Linked DNA regions of Homo sapiens: region 1 is linked to region 2. Evidence: promoter capture Hi-C in 16 types of primary human blood cells and fetal thymus (Javierre and others, 2016). All regions are on one chromosome and are shown on one strand. The core of a region is centred on a gene start or on the middle of the fragment in contact, and the rest is flanking DNA. Distances in the headings are between cores, read along the strand shown. Region 1 overlaps BRCA1 (BRCA1 DNA repair associated). Region 2 holds the start of TMEM106A (transmembrane protein 106A).

The links. Contacts are between HindIII fragments. The CHiCAGO score rates a contact against its expected background, and 5 or more counts as called.
Region 1: a fragment that was not itself captured here is called in contact with the fragment with the promoter of TMEM106A in region 2 in 3 of 17 cell types (endothelial precursors, megakaryocytes and M1 macrophages); the score reaches 8.3 in endothelial precursors.

Annotation. Positions count from the first base shown.
Region 1 is chr17:43,044,150-43,047,384 of GRCh38, forward strand. It overlaps BRCA1 (BRCA1 DNA repair associated), which reads right to left. Exons shown (of 23, transcript NM_007294.4): 23 at 146-1,653. The coding sequence ends at 1,529. Among named protein-coding and RNA genes, the nearest start is that of RND2, 21 kb to the left of the region's middle. The HindIII fragment of the contact is 9,714 bases long and covers 1-3,235 here.
Region 2 is chr17:43,210,270-43,213,725 of GRCh38, forward strand. TMEM106A (transmembrane protein 106A) reads left to right here and starts at 1,606. Exons shown (of 9, transcript NM_145041.4): 1 at 1,606-1,653; 2 at 1,958-2,125; 3 at 2,752-2,983. The coding sequence starts at 2,773. It overlaps NBR1 (NBR1 autophagy cargo receptor), which reads left to right. Exons shown (of 21, transcript NM_005899.5): 21 at 1-1,419. The HindIII fragment of the contact is 182 bases long and covers 1,580-1,761 here.

The DNA of each region.
Region 1 (3,235 bases), core at 1-2,500, 170 kb before region 2:
ATACAAAAGGTATTTAAGCTGCCTCAATAAATCCTAGGAGGTAGATACTATCATTACCCCCATTTTACAGAGTGGGAGACTGAAGCACAGTGAAAAGGCTCTGAGAAAGTCGGCTGGCCTAAGTCTCAAGAACAGTCATTCATGGTGGAAGTGTTTGCTACCAAGTTTATTTGCAGTGTTAACAGCACAACATTTACAAAACGTATTTTGTACAATCAAGTCTTCACTGCCCTTGCACACTGGGGGGGCTAGGGAAGACCTAGTCCTTCCAACAGCTATAAACAGTCCTGGATAATGGGTTTATGAAAAACACTTTTTCTTCCTTCAGCAAGCAAAATTATTTATGAAGCTGTATGGTTTCAGCAACAGGGAGCAAAGGAAAAAAATCACCTCAAAGAAAGCAACAGCTTCCTTCCTGGTGGGATCTGTCATTTTATAGATATGAAATATTCATGCCAGAGGTCTTATATTTTAAGAGGAATGGATTATATACCAGAGCTACAACAATAAACATTTTACTTATTACTAATGAGGAATTAGAAGACTGTCTTTGGAAACCGGTTCTTGAAAATCTTCTGCTGTTTTAGAACACATTCTTTAGAAATCTAGCAAATATATCTCAGACTTTTAGAAATCTCTTCTAGTTTCATTTTCCTTTTTTTTTTTTTTTTTTTGAGCCACAGTCTCACTGTCACCCAGGCTGGAGTGCCGTGGTATGATCTTGGCTCACTGCAACCTCCACCTCCCGGGCTGAAGTGATTCTCCTGCCTTAGCCACCTGAGTAGCTGGGATTACAGGTGTCCACCACCATGACCGGCTAATTTCTGTATTTTTAGTAGAGATGGGGTTTCACCATGTTGGCCAGGCTGGTTTCGAACTCCTGACCTCCAGTGATCTGCCCACCTTGGCCTCCCAAAGTGCTGGGATTACAGGCGTGAGCCACCATGCCCAGGTTTCAAGTTTCCTTTTCATTTCTAATACCTGCCTCAGAATTTCCTCCCCAATGTTCCACTCCAACATTTGAGAACTGCCCAAGGACTATTCTGACTTTAAGTCACATAATCGATCCCAAGCACTCTCCTTCCATTGAAGGGTCTGACTCTCTGCCTTTGTGAACACAGGGTTTTAGAGAAGTAAACTTAGGGAAACCAGCTATTCTCTTGAGGCCAAGCCACTCTGTGCTTCCAGCCCTAAGCCAACAACAGCCTGAATAGAAAGAATAGGGCTGATAAATAATGAATCAGCATCTTGCTCAATTGGTGGCGTTTAAATGGTTTTAAAATCTTCTCAGGTGAAAAATTACCATAATTTTGTGCTCATGGCAGATTTCCAAGGGAGACTTCAAGCAGAAAATCTTTAAGGGACCCTTGCATAGCCAGAAGTCCTTTTCAGGCTGATGTACATAAAATATTTAGTAGCCAGGACAGTAGAAGGACTGAAGAGTGAGAGGAGCTCCCAGGGCCTGGAAAGGCCACTTTGTAAGCTCATTCTTGGGGTCCTGTGGCTCTGTACCTGTGGCTGGCTGCAGTCAGTAGTGGCTGTGGGGGATCTGGGGTATCAGGTAGGTGTCCAGCTCCTGGCACTGGTAGAGTGCTACACTGTCCAACACCCACTCTCGGGTCACCACAGGTGCCTCACACATCTGCCCAATTGCTGGAGACAGAGAACACAAGCAGAGATTAGTGTCAATTCATTCTCCTGGACTAGGCTCTAATCAATCGACTCCAGGGTCCTGGTTGTATGAGTTCTTAGGATTAATGAGGTAGAAGCTAATTTTTTTTTTTTTTTTTTGAGACGGAGTCTTGCTCTGTCGCCGAGGCTAGAGTGTGATGGCGCAATCTCGGCTCATTCAACCTCCGCCTCCTGGGTTCAAGCAATTCTCCTGTCTCTGCCTCCTGAGTAGCTGGAATTACAGGCACATGCCATCACACCCAGCTAATTTTTGTATTTTTAGTAGAGACGGGGGTTTCACAATGTTGGCCAGGCTGCTCTGGAACTCCTGACCTCAGGTGATCCACCCACCTTGGCCTCCCAAAGTGCTGGGATTACAGGCGTGAGCCACTGCACCTGGCCTTTTTTTTTTTTTTTTTTTTTTTTTGAGACGGAGTCTTGCTCTTGTTGCTCAGCCTGGAATGCAATGGCACGATCTCAGCTCACTGCAACCTCCACCTCCCGGGTTCAAGCAATTCTCCTGCCTCAGCCTCCCAAGTAGCAGGGATTACAGGTGCCTGCCACCATGCCAGGCTAATTGTTTTTTCTTTTTTTTCAGATGGAGTCTCACTCTGTCACTCAGGCTGGATTGTGATGGTGTGATCTCAGCTCACTGCAACCTCAACATCCTGGGTTCAAGCGATTCTCCTGCCTCAGTCTCCCAAGTAGCTGGGACTACAAGTGCGTGCCACCATGCCTGGCTAATTTTTTTTAGTATTTTTAGTAGAGATGGGGTTTCGCCATATTGGCCAGGCTGGTCTCAAACTCCTGATGTCAGGTGATCCGCCCTGAGGCTGAGGCAGGAGAATCATTTAAACCCAGGAGGCGGAGGTTGCAGTGAGCCAAGACTGGGCCACTGCACTCCAGCCTGCTAAGTGACAGAGTGAGACTCCACCTCAAAAAAAAAAAAAAAAGGCAATGCTTCAGGACATAAGGCCTTGCTCTGAAGAGGCCCTAGGAGTGACTCCTGGTGACAGTGAAAGCCCACAGCCTCTGGCAACTGTATTAACATGAACTTCAATCTGTTAAAGGAAAGCCACCAGGAAAACAGCACTGTAATTTAACGATGTGGAAAAATGTATGTAATATCTTAAGGAAAAAAGCAAAACAGTGTAATTATGATCACATTTTATAAAATACACGTGTATATATACGCACATATGCCTGGTGGAGTTTTATGGTGATCATCTCCAAGTGGTGGAATTACTGGGATTATTTTATTGTTTTTGTGTAAATTTATACTTTCTTTTTTCTTTTTGAGACACGGTCTCGCTCTGTCGCCCAGGCTGGAGTACAGTGGTGTGATCGTGGCTCACTGAAGCATCAACCTCCTGAGCTCAAGTGATCCTCCCACCTCAGCTTCCCAAGTAGCTGCGACTACAGGCATCTGCCACCACACCCAGCTACTTTTTAAATTTGTTGTACAGATGAAGTCTCCTTATGTTGCCCAGGCTGGTCTCGAACTTCTAGGCTCCCACCTTGACCTCCATCTTGACCTCCCAAAGTGCTGGAATTATAGGCATGA
Region 2 (3,456 bases), core at 356-2,855:
GACATTGGATGAATAGTATGAAGACAGTTTTTCAGTTGATTTGGATAAAACTATTTTAGTGCATTGACAAGTGTAACTTCAACTTCATATAGAACCATTTTTCTTTCTGCTTTTATTGAAACTGAGTATTTTTCTTTGGCTAATGTGGATTTTTTATGGGGATATCTGTTAATTTTCAGGTTTTGAAAGACATTAACCTCGGAAGTTGTTTTTAAGAATTATTCTCATAATTCTTATTCTCATAATTTCTGTAATCCACCTCAAGCTTCATAGTTATTTGGCATTGAAATAACACCCAGAGCATGATAGAAATGTTGTTACTCTTCCTCTCTCAAGGAGAAAGTAATTTTCCTGCAATACTTAATAATTGGCACCGTTGCTTTCTAAAGACTCCATGGTGCATTCAAGAGTATCCAACTTCAAGGGAATCTCCGCATTTCAATGAAAGGAGGAAGAGTGTGCTGATAAACCTACCAGCACCTATTGAGCAATGTCTATTATAGTAATTTTGCATACATTTTTATTTAAGGGAAAAAATATAGGTATTGTGAAATATTTTGCTAATCTTATAGAAAAGGAAAAAATCCCGTTATTTAAAGGGAAAAGTAAATTTAACAGTTGCCTTTTTTCTTAATGTCAGGGCAGATCTTATTTTACAGTACAGTGGGGGAAATAGAAACATGTGAAAGGCAAAAGGCAGGCTCCTAAATTAATGTCAGTGAAGTTCAGGGTGGGCAAATGAGTGTGTGTGAGGTATAGGAAATGCTGATGACTTCTTTAATGCTTGAAGTCCGTTCACAGGTATCTAGCCCTAGAATGCCTAGAACAGGAAGAGGCAGCTGGTGTTCTGCAAAACTTGGACAGGGGCAAAGTTGCTGAAAAAGTTTTGGTTTAACCCGAAGATAAGTGGAAAAGAGCTTGTCCATGAACCCAGGTTCTCACTCTGTTTACAGAAGTGTGTTGAGTACAGTTGGTGAAGGAAGAGGTAACAAAAAATGCTAAATATTTTATCCATGAAAATGACTTCCAGAAAAGGAAGAATATGAACCCCAGACCGAAGGGGAAAAGATAGTTAATAGTATTATCTAACCTGGTTGGTATTTGTAATGAATGGTGATTTTAATTAGTCATTAGCCATAATGATGTTTATTTACAGTATAACTCCTGAATGCTACTTAAATAAACCAGGATTCAAACTGCAAGCCAGCCAGGCCGTTCATTATTTAAAACGTTTTAATCGGGGCTTCCGGGTAGAAGGTGGAGCGGCAGGGTGTAATTGGGTTGATGGGTGGGACCTGTCTTGACCATCGGAGTTTTATAATCGAGGGCCAGGAGGGCCCGGGTTGCTCTCCTGGTTATGTATGTACTTGTACATAACCACCTAAAGAATGGTGAAATAAATGTTCTTGGAAATTCCTACCCGGACTGGCTAGTCCTTGCGGAAGCAGCGTCCGGGCCCTCGGGTAACGTTTGAAGAGCTGGCAGCGTCTCAGGCTGCTGCGTGGCGAAGGGGCGGACCGGGGGACGGGGGGGTGGGCCCTTAGGGGCTGGGGCGGGACTTCCCTGGGCACTGAGTCAAAGCTTGAGGGGAGTGTTCGCTCCCGCATTTTCGATTCCACTCTCTTCCGTTTCTGTCGCTGCAGTCGTCCGCGGGTAAGGCCCTCCCTAGACCCTTTATACCTACTTTACCTTTCGGAGGTCAAGACACCTCCTGTTGCCGCCTCCTCGCCCAACACACAGGCGCCCCCCGCACGGGTACCAAGCTTGACTAACGGCCTCTAGGGGTGTGTGGTGGGACTTGAAATCCTCCCTTAATGAAGTCACACCTTCTCCGTCCGCTTCCACCCGGTCGGCCCATGGCAGAGCCCCCATGTAGCCCAGGAATCGGCTTGGCCCTTCGGGGAGGTCAGCGTCCTTACTATCCCCACTCTCCAGTGCGGCACATTCGTTCCCCTAGGACTCCGGCCGGTTGCCGGCCCCAGGCGGTGCTTCTCCCCACCACCGCCCAGCTCAGCTCAGCCCAGCCCAGCCCACTCTGCCCTTAGAGGCCCTTCTCCCCAAAGACGCACTCCAGAAGTCTCGCCCTCGTGCGGCTGAGGAGCCTGGGATCCCAGACCTGAACAAGGTGAGCATCCCTATATTTTAGCCCAGAAAGATCTGTGTGGCTCACTTGCCGGCCTCGTTCTGTCACACAGAGTCCAGATTTAGCCTTGAGTTTTCCTAGTGAAAGACAGACCCTGGTATCACTATGACCCTCCTCAGGCTTTCTTACCCCGCCTCAGAAAGCAGTGAGGTGTCTGCTTTCTCCCAGGGCTTCTTTAGATAGGGGTCTTAACCACACCTGTGACCAGTCTGGCCTCCTCTCTCCTTGATTCAAAGAATCTCTTTTCTGCCCTATCCAACTTCCTTCCCTTAAACTGAATGACAGCTCAGCAACTTTTCCAGAGAAAAATTAAATGCTCTGACAATCACTTATGGAAGTTCCTTAAAGTGAAGTAACTTCTGCTTTTCTTTTGTTTTCCCTTTTGTAGGCAGATTGGTCTCTTTTAAAATAATGAAAGGAGTCGAAATGCATTGAGACTTCTGAGAGTCCCATGTGACCACCCAGTTTTTCACATCCTATCTTCCTTAGGCTTGAGCTTGCTTAAACTGTGGTGAAGCTCCTTGCCAGTCTTGAGAACTTCAAACCAAAATTACATCTGGCGTCAGTGCTAACAAGCTTAGCACTGAACTTTGGTCTTTTCTCATTAGTGAAACCCCCGCCCCTGAAGAATGGGTAAGACGTTTTCCCAGCTGGGCTCTTGGCGGGAGGATGAGAACAAGTCAATCCTGTCCTCCAAACCAGCCATTGGCAGCAAGGCTGTCAACTACTCCAGCACCGGTAGCAGCAAGTCTTTTTGTTCCTGTGTGCCTTGTGAAGGAACTGCTGATGCCAGCTTCGTGACTTGTCCCACCTGCCAGGGCAGTGGCAAGATTCCCCAAGGTGAGTGGCCCAAGGCTCTGGAAATAGCCTGGAATCCAGGGAAAGTTCTTAGCCTGTTGGCCTGGGGCAGCCCCTCTGAGTCTCCTTGGATGGGGTTAGATCTGCTCCCAGCTCTTGACCTCCCAGTCTCAGGCTGGCCAGGGAGATACTTAACTATCCTTGGGTTCCCTGCAAAAACCTGCCCTCCTTCCCTGGTTGTATTCTCCAGCCCCTTGTGGGAAAGAAGGATTCTAGCCACTGTGCTTCTGAGCAACACTGTGTGTCCTAGGATTCATTCAGTTCAGGAAGTTACAAATGAACTTTCCAAAGATGCTGGGCATCTCTGATTTGCTGGTGACTTTCAGAGATTCTTCATACCTATTAGTGGAAATCTCACTTCCATTCTAGAGATGGCAAAGCTGAGCTGCCAACTTTGGTAGCAGAGTCCAGTGCTTCCAGTCCTGCTCTGGGGCAGATGTGGCATGTTTCTAACA